Linked DNA regions of Homo sapiens: regions 1, 2, 3 and 4 are each linked to region 5. Evidence: promoter capture Hi-C in 16 types of primary human blood cells and fetal thymus (Javierre and others, 2016). All regions are on one chromosome and are shown on one strand. Each heading gives the region's core, a stretch centred on a gene start or on the middle of the fragment in contact. The rest is flanking DNA. Distances are from core to core; before and after follow the strand shown. Region 1 overlaps BCL2L11 (BCL2 like 11). Region 2 overlaps ACOXL (acyl-CoA oxidase like). Region 3 overlaps BCL2L11 (BCL2 like 11). Region 4 has its middle 69 kb from the start of BCL2L11. Region 5 holds the start of ACOXL (acyl-CoA oxidase like).

Region 1 (2,700 bases), core at 81-2,580, 440 kb before region 5:
AAAAAAAACCCCAAACTGTACTGGTTATATGAATAAAACATAAGAAAATATATTTAAAACTTTGTCATAGATAAGTTGTCTTAAACGAGATACAAAATACAGAAACCTAAGCAAGACTGACAGACTGACAAATCTGACTTCTTTTTTTTTTTTTTTTTTTTTTTTTTTGAGACGGAGTCTCACTCTGTCGCCCAGGCTGGAGTGCAGTGGCGCGATCTTGGCTCGCTGCAGGCTTCGCCCCCCGGGGTTCACGCCATTCTCCTGCCTCAGCCTCCCGAGTAGCTGGGACTATAGGCACCCACCACCTAAGATGACAACTTCTACATAAAATACACCACAAGCAATTAAAAAACATGCTGCAGAATAAAAACATATGTTCACAAAAGAGACTCATATGCTTTGTATGAGAGTATTCATAGCAGATTTATTCATCATAGCCCCAAACTGGTAAGAACTCAGGTGTTCATTAATAAGACAATAGACAAAGCATGGTTTGTTCACACAATAGACTACTACTTAGTAATAAAAAGGAAGAAATTACTGATAATTGTAACATGGATCTCATATTCTGAGCAAAAGAAACCAGACACGACACAAAAGACCATATACTGTTATGGTTCCATTAATATGAAGTTCAGGAAGAGGTAAGACTAATTTATGACGGAAAAGAATCTCAGAACAGAGGTTACCAATGGGGGCAGGAGAGGAGGGATTACCTGGAAAGCAGATAACTTTCTGGGAGTTACGGTAGTATTCTTTATCTTGACAAGGGTTTGAGAGACAGCTGTATCCTTGGTCAAAATTTAGCAAATGCACACATAGGATTTGTATGTTTTACTTTATGTAAATTTTATCTTTGGAGAAAAAAATTATAAAAAATTGATGAACTCTAAATGATGCTGAAGTATTTGGGGATAAGAGTATTGGTGACAACTTGTTTTGAAATGCACCAAAAAATAAGCCGGATTAATAAATGAATACATGATAATGCAAAGGTAGTAAAAGTTAAAGGTAGAAGCTAGGTAGTGAGTGCATGGGTATTCTCTGTAAAACTCTTTTGACTTTTCTGAATGTTTGGAAGTTTTCACAATAAAATGTTGGGAAAAAAAGGCAACAGATTGAAGGAAAAGTATTTCCAACATATAAGAGATTTTTTTGTCCAGAATGTATAAAGAGCTAATCATCAATAGAAAAAATACTCAACCAAAAATTAGCAAAAACTTTCAGAAAAAAAGGCAAATGCCACCAGTGCCTGAAAAGATCATCCTACTGCATTGATAGAAAAATTCAAATGAGCACCACTTGCTCCTCACCCAGCAGGCAGACACCAGCTCACTCATGTCTGACAGCACTGGGGGTAAGTGGGTGTTCTTATGTGCTGCCAGGGCCCGTGTGAAGTGGAGCTGCCACTTTGACAGTGTCTTCCAGAGTCTGTTGAGGCTGATCTTCCACCTCCCTGTACCACAAGAGTGGGATACCTATGAGCAAATTCTATGCCTGTGCTCTGGCACTTGCTGCAGTAGTTAGCATGAAGTGGAGTCGCTATGGAAAGATATGTGACCTATTGCTAAGTCAGAACCATATACAGAGCTATGGCACTTACAGAAAAGCAAAACTGCTGTGTGAGTACACACAACACACACACACACACACACTGCAGATTAAGAGTCCAGGAGAATGCAAACTCCTACCTCAGTGAGGAGGTAGGATTAAGACAGAACAATTTGATTTGAAACAAATACAATTTGAAATAAATTTACAAGACCATATTCATGTATTACTCACCCGATTGAAAGCATTAACAGATTGTTAGTCTAAAAGAAAGCTGAGTCTGTCTTTCACTTTCCCAGCACTTAGGGTGAAAGTGCCAAATTAAATACTTATTAGGATTTTATCACCTGTATCCCCAAACCAGGCTTTAATTTCTTTCACTCATTCCTAAGGCAATTCCCATCCACCCTACATGACGGGAGCTGGGAACTTGGCGGTTCCTGGTCATCATTTCACACACAGGGTCTAGGCACGTTTGGGTGACCCCTTTGACCCTGAGCAGGTGCTGCAGACAAGCCCTTTCTATTATGGGGTTGATGGGGTAAGATGGCTGGGCACCTGCCATATCACTCATCAACACAGTACAGAGCCGGCTCCTAGTACACTTCCCTGCCCCCACAACTCCCCACCCAAGTGCTGAGTCATATCTGACTGTGCAGGCAGAATACTTTTCGCACCAGCCACATCAAAACTTTAAAGACTCGTTTACTTTTAAGTGTACTGCACGGATTCGTCTTCAAGCAAAAATATATGAGCTACACACAGCTACATTTTATGACTGATAATAGCAGATGTGTGGGCGTGTACATGTTCATATATAATTTCAGCTGTTTCTCTGACATTTTGTGCAAACAAATCAAACGCTCACCAAAACTAGTTGAAAGTTTTATTTTTATAAAATTAACATAAAAGATTGTTTAAAAATCTGCAGTTATTTACAGCAGTATTGCACAAGTAAAGTGGCAATTACCCTGTCAAAATTCATCAGTGCAAAACACAAGTAAGCCAGGGAAACTGCAATACAAATGCTACATACGCTGGGTCCTAGAAAACAGGTTAGTGATGGATCAGTATACAGCCAGATCAGTGCTATTTATAAGTGGGTACCTGATGAGTTCTGATACAGTAACTAGTGGTCACAGAATCTGG
Region 2 (2,700 bases), core at 139-2,638, 360 kb before region 5:
AAGTTTGGAGTCATTTGTTATACAGAAATACATTACTGTAGCATCATTACATATACTTTTCTCTGTAACCTCCGTTTTCCTGAAAAGGAAAAATGTTCTTCAAGGTTCTCCAGGGTCCACTGTAGTCTGGTTCCTGACGACTTCTCCAGGTTTTCCATTAGACAGGTAAAGTCTTTATTGTTTATTAATATGTCTAAGTACTCCATGTCTATGATCGTCCTCACTTTATCAACCCTGTCTGAAGTTTCAACTGCATTTTCCCCTCTCAATTGGGCCACCATCTCTTAATTTTCTACTCTTCAAGGTCTAGCATAAGAATGGCATTTATTCCTAAGACGTCTGTTCTGTCAACTCTGAATTTATTCTTATGGCCAAGTTCATTCGAAAACCTCCATGCCCTGTGAGAGTATTTGTGTTTTGTTTTGTTGTTTTTTGCTGTTGTTGTTTTGTTTTGTTTTGAGATGGAGTCTCACTCTGTAGTCCAAACTGGAGTACAGTGGCGCAATCTCTGCTCACTGCAACCTCCAACTCCAGGGCTCAAGCGATTCTCGTGCCTCAGCCTCCCGAGTAGCTGGGACTACAGCCACATGCCACCACGCCCAGCTAATTTTTTTGTATTTTAGTAGACAGGGTTTCACCATGTTGCCCAAGATGGTGTCGAACTCCTGAGCTCAGGAGATCTGCCCGCCTCAGCCTCCCATAGTGCTGGGATTACAGGCATGAGCCACTGCACCTGGCCAGTATTTATGTTTTTAAAGTGGTTTTGTGTCCTTGGATATGAGCTCCCTTCATGTGGAGACTGAGTCTTATACCTGTTTGTGTTTCAGCATCTCTCCTGCAGAAAGGATGTAATCAGAAATGTGTTTTACTGATGAGTATGCTGTTTCACATTCTTTTTCTTTGCAGTAGCATTTTCGTGGTGAATACTGGCCTCACCTTCTTTTTCAGGTGCTCCGTAGCTATTGTATTGAATTCCCCATGGCTACCACTGACATAAAAATACCCCGGGTCTTTCTTCTTAATATAAACAATGTATTAATAGGCTTTGGTAAGAAGCAGAAAAGAAATCACTAACACTTTTTTTTTTTTTTTTTTGGCCAAGACAAGGAAAACATTTTGATACCTTCCTCTCCTTTTCATGTTAGAAAACTCATGTACAGTGAGTCACTCCCTTGTCACCTAAACTCTTAAGTGTAATACGATCATGATAGGTAATGAAAATATACATGTGAAGTCCCAGAGGCATAAAAATCCATGAGTGGAAACTGATAGAAGATTGGCAGGACTGTTTTCTAAGAAAGCAAGGAGACCAGGGCTGATGTACAAAGTGTTTTTCTGTACCCCAGGGACCTTACCTGATTCCTGATCCTCGTGCTGGCCATGGGAGTCAAGTATTTATGTTCTAAATACCAGGCCCGCTCCTGAAACACCAGCTTGGTTCCATACAACAGACAAAACTAAGGGGTGGGGGAAAACAAAAGAAATGGACAAATAGCAATATATTAGAAAACACAAAATCTAAGGAGGCGAAAGAGAAATAACATAATATTACATTTCATAAAATCGTAAAAGTTAATACTTTCCTAATGTAAAATGGCCATGTTTTGGATGTGCAGTATAGGTTTTATTTTTTAAAAGAATTCTATGAAAAATTTAAAGCATATACAAAAGTAGAACAAATAGCATAACGAACTCCCATATATCCTTCCCCAAAACTCAAGAAATTTTAACTCACAACCAACCTTATTTCATATGTAACCTACCTGGTTCTCCTCTAGCCCACGTTATTTAGGAGCAAAGTCCATACAGCAAAGTCCACGTGAAAGATACTGTAAAGGTACATCCTGAATAATAATATCTTGATATTTTCCATTGAGCATGGTTTGGGTAAACTTTCACAAAAAATAGCATTCCTCATTTACATTTTGTTTCAGTATGTTTTTTCCTATTATGTTTCTGAAACCTACACACAGAGCTTCTGCATCACATCATGGGCACCAAGCAACAATAAATGAGTTTCCCTGTAGGAAGAAGTCACTTTTTATTTAACTGTTTATTCACGTAACTCTCGATATTCAATAATTTCAAAATCACGCAAAAATAGAGAGCATAGTATGGGCCTCATGTCTCCATCACCCATATCCACTCATCGCGAATCCTGTTTTTACTCTGCTCCCACCTATTCCCCTTCTCTGTATCACTGCAAAGCAGACCTCAGTCATATCATTTCACCCACAAATATCTCACTGTGTATCTCTAAAAGATAATGACACATTAGAAGTAAGATAGCCTCAAAACCAAACCAAGCAAAAACAAAACCCTCTTATTCTGAGTCAAATAGAAATGATCTTCCCACTAGAAGACAATTTGCCTTCTATGGCTTATCAGACTCAGAAGTCATGTGGTTCACAGTCATGTGGTTCACAGTCATGCAGACCCTGTGGTCTCCTCATTCCTTTCTTGGGGTTCTGGCGTATCCTTGGAACAGCATCATTATGAGGAGCCTCAACTATTCAGTCTTCCCAGAAAGTGTCACAGTATGGCTGAGCAGCTTATTTATGAAAGATATTTAAGGTTAATTTCAGCTCTTTTATGAAATTACCAAAGTCTGGACAGTAGTTCCTTGGCCAGATTAAGTGCCCTTTGGGTCTTTTACATGACACCAATAAAGATGTTAGCTGACCCTTCAGATAGTGTGAG
Region 3 (2,790 bases), core at 63-2,562, 410 kb before region 5:
GCTTTAACCACCAAAAGCAATAAAGGATCCTGTAAAGGGCCATTTCTTTGTGGACTCTGAAACCAGCTTTAAACCAATTCCAAGAGATACTCCGAAAATGTTTAGGGGAGTCACTGCCTCTGTCTGCAGGTGGGCTCTCTGAAGCTGACATTCATTTAGAGAAAGAAAAATTCCAGGATGTTTATTCAACTCTGTAAGTCTCCTTCTTTAAATATCTTCAGAAATATCTTTCTAAATTCAGAGTTATCCAAAGCTTACAAGAGGAGGGAAGCAACAGACCAGCCCCCTTATGTTTCCTTATAAAACTCACCTGGGTGATGGAGCTGTTTCTAGTCCCAGTTAGCTATAAGGCAAAGGAGAGCAACTGCCATCAGCGTTTGCGGTAAATGCTATCAGAATCATGTTTGAAATCCTCAACTCTGACGGTTCTCAGAAATAAAATAAGCAAGTAACCAACAACACACACACACACCTCCCTCCAGGTCTATTTCTCACTTGTATCATTTTATTTTTTGGCAATCCCAATCAATTCCGCTGAGCCACTGGATGAAAACAAAAGCTATGAGAAATACGATGACAGCATTAGTACTCAAAGATTCCTCAATCTGTCTCCCTGGAACACATTTGTGTCAAAAGCCTGGGCAGTCACATGAATTCAAGACAGTGCTTCAAAAACAGCTGCTAGGATAAAATACTATCAATAATAAAGTTTATGAGATGAGGCCAGTGTTTTCATACTTACTCTTTCAACGTGCACTGCCCATTGCCTTTATGGAGCCATGGTCAAAAGAAACAGCTTTCATCAATTTCCAGCCTGACCATTTGGAAACTGCCAGTAAACCAAGGCTGTGAAGTTGGACAGAAGTCTGGAAACTAGTGTTCATGAGATTTTTTCCCTCATTCACTATTATCTGTCCCTTATAATAAAAATACAAGTCTAAAGACATTAAGATTAATGTGTTATGCCTTTTTACTCATTTCTCATTCAACATCAGAAAAACTAATTATCCATGTCACCAGAGCTGTCCCCGACACACATATTAACATATTTACTAGCAGCTGGGGACAAGCCAGGAGCAAACCCAGACTGAGCTGTGATCCCTATACTCAAGGACATCCCCAGCTGAGTCACGACAGAAGCCCAGCATCTTGCACCATGTGGGAGACCTGAGCAGGAGCCCTCTAAGACTCCCAGCCTGTGTGCCCGCTTCCTGGGACAGATGCACATTTCCTAAGGCACTGCTGTCCTCGCTGAAGAACACTGAGTGCTACGATGCTATTCCTCGTAGGGAATTGAAATGTTCCCTTCTAAGCCCCACTTCAATCTTGATTCTGCCCCTGGGACTATAAAGGAAATCTATGATCCCTCTCAATCATCACCCCACTTTTTGTCAGTGAACCTGTGCCAAACCTGGTCCTAAACCAGTTCTTTCCATGTGCCTTGTATGACATCCCCTGGGAAGCCCCTTGACCACCTGGCCCGCCTTGGTGTGCTCCTGAAATCGCTGCTCTGAATAGTGTGTGACAGTGTTCTGCCCCTGGTGTTCTGCCAGTGTTCTTCTGGGGAAAGACACGGGACACTGAATACTGCTACTACTCCTTAGTTTTTCTACACCAACCTTCATCCTAGTAAGTCTCTGCGACAGCCACAGCTCCATTTCTATAGCTTTAGATTACTTTCAGGGGATTAAAAGTATCTGACCTGTGCCATTTTATTCTGAAAAACAAAAATAATCCCAAAACTAAGGACAGCTAAAAGAAGACCAACCCTGAAATTACTTTAGTGCAAAGACACAAATCCCTATATTTTTTCTACTGACGAGGTAAACTACCCAATTTATTTCCCCATAAGAAGAAAAATGCTTTAGAGACCTTTTAAAAGTAAAGATAAAACTCTATATACATTGGTTCACTTAAGACCATTCCTTAGAATTAAAATGCTTAATTTGAAGTTACTGTAAGTTGTTTCTAGCCAAAAAACCAGATCTGGGCAAGAGGGGAGGGAGATGAGAATTTAAACAAAAAATATAAGAATTTCTGATGACAAAATAAGTGTGGCTTCCTCTATGAAATTTAAAACCAGTAGCAGGAAACTGGTGATTAACATCTTTTCTCCTAAACTCACATTAAGGTCTTCAGTATTACTGTTTTCACCTCCATGATAAGAAAGACCAAGACACAGGTAAAAAATAAGAGCAAAAACAGAATCCTTAAAAAGCTACACCTTAAACAGTTTTTAAAATAAAAATGGAAAAAGCCTATAATGTATACGGTTAAAACTTACAATGGTGATATACAAAGTGAAGTACAATTTAACACAGATATGATTATTGATAACACACTGTAGGGCTAAGACATAATGAAAGCTTCTCACTTAAAAGTCACAAAAGGCAGCTGCTTCTTTTTATCCCATTTTGAATAAAAAGAAAAACTTTTCACCTTGATTTTGCTAACCACTTGAGTGGCCACTGAACTTCCCTATGAAGGGCAATTCTGAGGGAGGATCCAGCGGAGTCATCTGCAAGCCATAAAAATGTTGTATAAATAAATTGTGCCATGTCTTCCCAGACAGATAACTTGTTTTGTCACAGAAGGAAAAGAACAGGAGGTAGAGTCTTCATTAGCACAAGTGCAAGTTAAGGATGTAAAGAATTCTGTGCTGAAAGACTGTGTTCTGGTGCTTTTGAAGGTCTTCCATGTGTTTAGGTTCACACATTCCTCCTCCTCCCTGATGCCCCCACTTTCCAGGGCAGACACGGCTGCTGCCCAGTGAGTCTGTATCCTAGATGA
Region 4 (2,704 bases), core at 74-2,573, 460 kb before region 5:
AAGAGGTAGCCAAAAACTAGGCACCCCACCCATCCACCCAGCTTTGTAAAGTGTGAGCTGAGGTTCTGGTGCAGCAACTCATTTAATCCTTGTCACAGCATCCTGATTTCCCCACCACCATTATCTCCATTTTAAAGATGGGGAAACTGAGGCACAGGGTGTCTAAGTAACAAGCCAAGGTGCCACAGTTACTAAAACTGCAGGACCCAGGATATAAACCCTGGCCATCAGCACCTGAGCCCACAGTTATAATCACTCTACCAGGCTGCTGTGCTCCTACACGGGGCAGGGTTTCTGGGGGTCACTAGCCTGGCTGGCCCAGCATTCCCTGGGAGATTTGACATGCAGATGTCCACACACACCCCTGCTGAATCAGGATCTGAGGAGACTTGAGGCCTAGGAATCTCTAGCTGATTCAGTGTGGCAGGCCACACAAAGGTTACTAGCATCCTTAGGACTAAAACTAGATTATAGTTTCTGCATGGACCTGCCTGGATACAGACATGTTCCTGAAAAGACCTGGGTATATAGCAATTGTGGCCTGTGAATCAAAGCCCAAAGCTACTAGGGGAGCCAGTTCTGGAAAGATCTCTCCAACAGCTGTTTACAGAGCCCAAGGGCTCCCCAAGAGGCATCTTTGCCTCAAACCACTTAGCTCTTCCATCCAACACACTTGAATCAAGCCTTTCTTTTCTTTTTCTTTCTTTTTTTTTTTTTTTTTTTTTGAGACAGAGTCTTACTCTGTCACCCAGGCTGGAGTGCAATGATGCAATCTCAGCTCACTGCAACTTCTGCTTCCTGGGTTCAAGCGATTCTCCTGCCTCAGCTTTCTGGGATTACAGGCATGCGCCACCATGCCCGGCTAATTTTTGTATTTTTAGTAGAGATGGAGTTTCACCATATTGGCCAGGTTGGTCTCAAACTCCTAAACTCAGGTAATCCGCCCACCTCGGCCTCCCAAAGTGCTGGGATTACAGGCATGAGCCACCACACCCAGCTTGTATTGAGCCTTTTCTACGGGTTAGGGAAACTGGCATGGTGTGTGCTCAACACGCAGAAGACAGGCAGCTCTCTGGTTGTGCATGGAGCTCCCAGCACAATGCCCAGCCCGTGGGACGGAGCAGAGCAGCCAGGCTGCTGACTGGGTAGAAAGAACACCTAGGACAAGCCTGGCGGGAAGTCTGGCAGACCCGCAAACCCTATTCGCCTCATGCATAAAATGCATGTGATGATAATAATAAAGGCTGCCTGGTCTGCTTTACAAAGTGGGAGGGAGATTGGCCAGTTTGGCCATCAACATTAGACACTCTCCATATGCTGAGTGATTTGCCACCACTCATTTCACCTACCTGGAGGTCCTGAGGGGAAGAGATTTTCATCTCCATTCAATGAAGGATGCTAAGGAGTAAATGCAGAGCTGAGATTGCTACCCAGCTCTGCAGACTGTAAGCAATTTTCACTGTGATGATCAAAGTGGAAGAGTGGAATGAGGACAACAGTGACAATATTGGAGGCCTGCACTGTGGGACCCAAGGCAGGAGGGCACAGGCCTCTGAGATCTGGGTTGAATGCCCTGGGGCCTGGGCTGGAGGGGGAGAAGTTAGTGAGCTGGAAGTCTGAACAGGTTTGCAAAGGGTAGGGCTGGCCTGGGGAGCCCATGACCCATGTACATTGGTGCAATGGTGATAACGAGGACGATAATTTTTAAAAAGAATACCACCTCCATACTTAAAAACATGGAGAAAATGCATTAGCCAAGATGACTGCAATAAGATCTCCTATCCCAAATGGTCTTCTCACTCCTCCCAAAAAGAGGTGGGGTTTATTGTCCATCCTTGAATCTGGGTGGACCTGCAACTATGGCAGAAGTGACATTCTGTGACTTCTGAAGCCAGGTTATGAAAGGCAATGCAGCTTCCTCCTGGTCTTATTGGGACACTCCCATTTGGAACCCAGACACCATGCTGTGGGGTAGCTCAGGCCACATGGAGAGACCATATAGAGGTGTTCCAGCCAACAGCACCAGCTGAGATCCCACCAACAGACAACGTCAACCACCATCCACCACCATCCCTGTCAGTCCAGAAGCCTTCAGGTGACTCCAGCCTAGCCTGACCGCATCTACAAAAAGGACCGTGAGTGGCCCTTCTGAGCTCAGTCAGCCACCAGAACTATGAGAGCTAATAAAAAAGGATTGGTGCTATGGTTTAAGCTACTAAGTTGTAGATGGCTCATTATACATCAATAGATCACTAGAAGAGGAAAAATCCATTTTATTTGGGGCTTAGGCGAAAGTGAAGTGCCTGGGCCAGGTAACAATTAATTTCCTCACTTTCGGTACTATAACAATTTCTAGAAGCTCAGTAACTATTTCTAACATTTTAAATTTATTTTTGTTGGATTTGGAAGAAAAGTAAATGCATTTTTTTTTTTTTGCAAGGAGAGAGGATGTAGGTTTGGTCTTGTCTAAGCTCATGCAGACATACCTCACAGATAACATCTTGGTTCTTTTTGGCAAAGATGGAATAGCCCAGGCGTTGAAGATGGTATGTGCATGGGTGAGTGAGTGTGTGAGTGAGTATGTGTGTGTATGTTTTTACTTTTAGTGATCGGAATTTTCAAGGAAGGAGGAAGAAAGAATAAAATTTCAATCCCCTGCCCTCCTCCCCACTCACTCTGTATAATCTGCAGTTCCCATGGAGGC
Region 5 (2,885 bases), core at 15-2,514:
TGAGAACCATAACTTAAAGAACTATGTATGAGAGAGAGGGAAAGAGAAGTCGGCGAGACACTGATGGATATACCCACCATCCCACACTTCTCACTTTTCAACTTTCAAACGCCCCCAACTCCCCACTAGGTAACCTCAGTGCAGGAACCCCAGATTCTCCAAGGACAGCCTGACGTTCACTCAAGCCATCTCCTTCCCTCTCATTTCCGCAAAATAAATTAAACGAGGGCTAAGTGGGCATGGCTAACCAATTAATCCTCCACGGGCACATACTGACATTTTTAATAGGGCCTTTCTTAAGCTAGAACTCCAAAGCATGCCTCCAACTGGGCTTTTCAGACTGCTTGAAATGGGTATGAGAAAGAGAGCCCACAGGAGACACGAATGCCGAGTTCTGGTCCTGACTGTCCGGTGACTGAACCATCTCTCTATCTCCAGTGCAGCTCAAGCACTCAACCCTCTGCCTGCTTCTCAGGGCTGTCCTGGCATCGGATGACATCGAGGACCTGAGTTCTTCTTATAACCAAACCGCCCCGCTGAAGCTGCCCATTCCGCACACCTGCACTCCGAGGGGGTCCTGTAAGCCTGTCCCACCCCGACGCCCAGACACGCCCTGGACAGGGCCACTCCATCCCTGTGCGCCCATCCCATCGCGGTTTTCTGTCCCCTTCTCCCCACCAAGGGTGGGACATCGCGGGGCGGGGACTCAAGAAACAGGTTCAACAAACCAGCAAGGCCGATCTTCCAGCCACACGGTCTTCGTAGACACCGCGCCTGTCACCGCGGGGCCCAGCCCTGCACCCGACTCTTCGTGGGGGAGGGAGCTCGGGAGGAGAGGGCACCTCTCAGGGGGCCGAAGAGGTCGGCGGCGGCCGGCTGCGCCCACACACCTGGGGAGGGGAGCCCGTCACCTGCGGCGAGGCAGGGACCCGCCTCTCAGGCGCGGCGCACACCCCACCTCGCCCTCGCCAGGGCGTTGTCCGCAGCGACGCTCCGGGGACCGAGGGGACACGCTCGGCGGCTTCGGGGGCGCGGGCAGGGGCGACGGCCGCAGCGCGGTACCTTTGCCGGAAGAGCGGGCGCCGCCGAGGAGTCCGCGCAGCTCGTTCTTGAGGCTCCAGAAGTCGCCGTCCAGGTAGCGGTGCAGGGAGGAGTCCCCGAGCCCCAGACCCGGCGCCGGCTGCATCGCGCTCACCTGCCTCTGCTTCTCCGCGTGGCTGGCAGGGCCGGCTTCGCTCCGCGCCTCCTCCAGCTCCCAGCAGGTGAGGCCCCAGGCGCACGCCCTCTCCCTCTCCACCCCTCCCGGCCCGTCTCCTCCCTCCTCACCTTCCTCTCCCCTCCCTCCCCGGCCCCGCCCTGCCCTGGCTTCCCGGGCGGGAGGTCCGGCGCGAGCGGGCGCTTCTACGGTGGCCTCCCCTTGCCCTTCCGAGGAAGCGAAAACTCTACCCTCCAGTTATCAACTGTCCCTCAAGATTTGTGAGCCGTAAGAAACAAGTACTAGACCCCTAGAAAGGGTGCCAGTCACGTGGACCTGGGCACCAGAGGCCCGGCTGCTCAGGACTGACCGGCTGACCCACTCAGCAGATCTCCCGGCCAGCCACTTTGCCTGACCCCCACGACCCAAGATAGCCTGGCTCCAGCTCTGGCCCCTCCTCAGCTGTATCTCACCTCTTCCCCGCACTGGGCATTACTGTGAACTCTAATATCACGGTAATCTAAAGGCGTCCCAGGTCTACAGCACTGCAGTCCAGGGTAGCTGGAAGCTGCATTCATGACGAGGTGATCGACCGGAACACGATACTCATTTCCCAGGACACTCCTTTTTTTGTTGTGGCTGGAGGAAAATGAGTTATAACCTAAGTGGAAAATGTTCCTTCCTTTCTGCTCCCTAATTCTCATATACCTTGTTGATTCTCCTTTTAAATACTCAAGGAAATGTTAGCCGTTCCCTTCCAGAGGCTACTTTGCTGGGGAGATGATGGTGTGGTCTGCTGTCGTGAGGTTAGTGGATGCCATCTGTATTCGTTTCCAGTAACAAATTCCCACAAAGTGAGTGGCTTAAGATAGCACCAATTTATTCTCTTACATTTCTGGAAGTCAGAAGTCCAAAATAGGACTTACAGGGTTAAAATCAAGGTGTTGGCAGAGCTGGGTTCCTTCTCACAGCTCCAGGGAAAAATGCATTTCCTTGTCTTTACTAGCTCCTAGAGGCTGCCTGCATTTCTTAGCTCCTGGCCCCTTCGTCTGTCTTCAAAATGCATCACTTCAAGCTCTGCTTTCATCGTTCCATCTTCTACTGACTTTGACCTTCTTGCCTCCCTTGGACTTGTTTACATGGGACCCATGGGAATAATCCATGGTCAATGGGAATAATCTTCCCACCACAAGATCCATACTTTAATCACACCAGCAATGTCCATTTTGCCATATCAGAAACACACTCTCCGGTACTAGGGATTAAAACATGAGCACCTTTGGCGAGTCATTCCTCTGTCTACCACACCTGTGCAGCTGCGAGTAATAATACCCAGTCATCCATGATAAAAGGGGCTTTGTTTTCTCACATCACAGGAAGCTTGGTGGTAGGAAAGCCCCAGGGGTGAATTTGATGGCTCTACCCTGGGGACCCAGGTCCTTTGCATCTTTCTGCTCCACCATCCGCCATCCTTTCTCTATATGTAATCGTTACCTTTTTTTTTTTAACTTGTCTTCTACCAGTTGTAAGATGGATGCTGCAGCTCCAAGCACCACCCTGTGCAAAGCAGAAGAGGAGTATTTCCTTCTATATCAGCCAAAATAGTGTAGTGGTAACAAACAACCCCGAAACGACTTCACATACACTTCCTCAAATCTTAGGGCCTAAAAAGACAAGAGTTTATTTCTCA

Evidence for each region. The method cuts DNA at HindIII sites, captures the fragments that hold promoters and counts their contacts. A CHiCAGO score of 5 or more calls a contact.
Region 1: a fragment that was not itself captured here is called in contact with the fragment with the promoter of ACOXL in region 5 in 1 of 17 cell types (monocytes); the score reaches 5.4 in monocytes.
Region 2: a contact is called between a fragment that was not itself captured here and the fragment with the promoter of ACOXL in region 5, in 1 of 17 cell types (naive CD8 T cells). The highest score is 5.7, in naive CD8 T cells.
Region 3: a fragment that was not itself captured here is called in contact with the fragment with the promoter of ACOXL in region 5 in 1 of 17 cell types (neutrophils); the score reaches 5.4 in neutrophils.
Region 4: a contact is called between a fragment that was not itself captured here and the fragment with the promoter of ACOXL in region 5, in 1 of 17 cell types (monocytes). The highest score is 5.1, in monocytes.

The regions. Positions count from the first base shown.
Region 1 is chr2:111,168,168-111,170,867 of GRCh38, reverse strand. BCL2L11 (BCL2 like 11) reads right to left here. Exons shown (of 4, transcript NM_138621.5): 4 at 2,424-2,700. Among named protein-coding and RNA genes, the nearest start is that of BCL2L11, 49 kb to the right of the region's middle. RefSeq lists an enhancer at 1,966-2,075. The HindIII fragment of the contact is 3,263 bases long and covers 1-2,700 here.
Region 2 is chr2:111,091,622-111,094,321 of GRCh38, reverse strand. It overlaps ACOXL (acyl-CoA oxidase like), which reads right to left. Exons shown (of 18, transcript NM_001142807.4): 17 at 1,356-1,457. Among named protein-coding and RNA genes, the nearest start is that of ACOXL-AS1, 23 kb to the left of the region's middle. The HindIII fragment of the contact is 5,723 bases long and covers 1-2,700 here.
Region 3 is chr2:111,142,041-111,144,830 of GRCh38, reverse strand. The region is part of intron 2 of BCL2L11 (BCL2 like 11); the gene reads right to left. Among named protein-coding and RNA genes, the nearest start is that of BCL2L11, 23 kb to the right of the region's middle. The HindIII fragment of the contact is 2,113 bases long and covers 256-2,368 here.
Region 4 is chr2:111,188,239-111,190,942 of GRCh38, reverse strand. No RefSeq gene overlaps it. Among named protein-coding and RNA genes, the nearest start is that of BCL2L11, 69 kb to the right of the region's middle. The HindIII fragment of the contact is 6,613 bases long and covers 1-2,704 here.
Region 5 is chr2:110,730,952-110,733,836 of GRCh38, reverse strand. ACOXL (acyl-CoA oxidase like) reads right to left here and starts at 1,264. Exons shown (of 18, transcript NM_001142807.4): 1 at 1,063-1,264. It overlaps LOC124906064 (a long non-coding RNA gene), which reads left to right and starts at 1,412. Exons shown (of 3, transcript XR_007087181.1): 1 at 1,412-1,483; 2 at 1,933-2,001; 3 at 2,202-2,476. The HindIII fragment of the contact is 3,688 bases long and covers 1-2,577 here.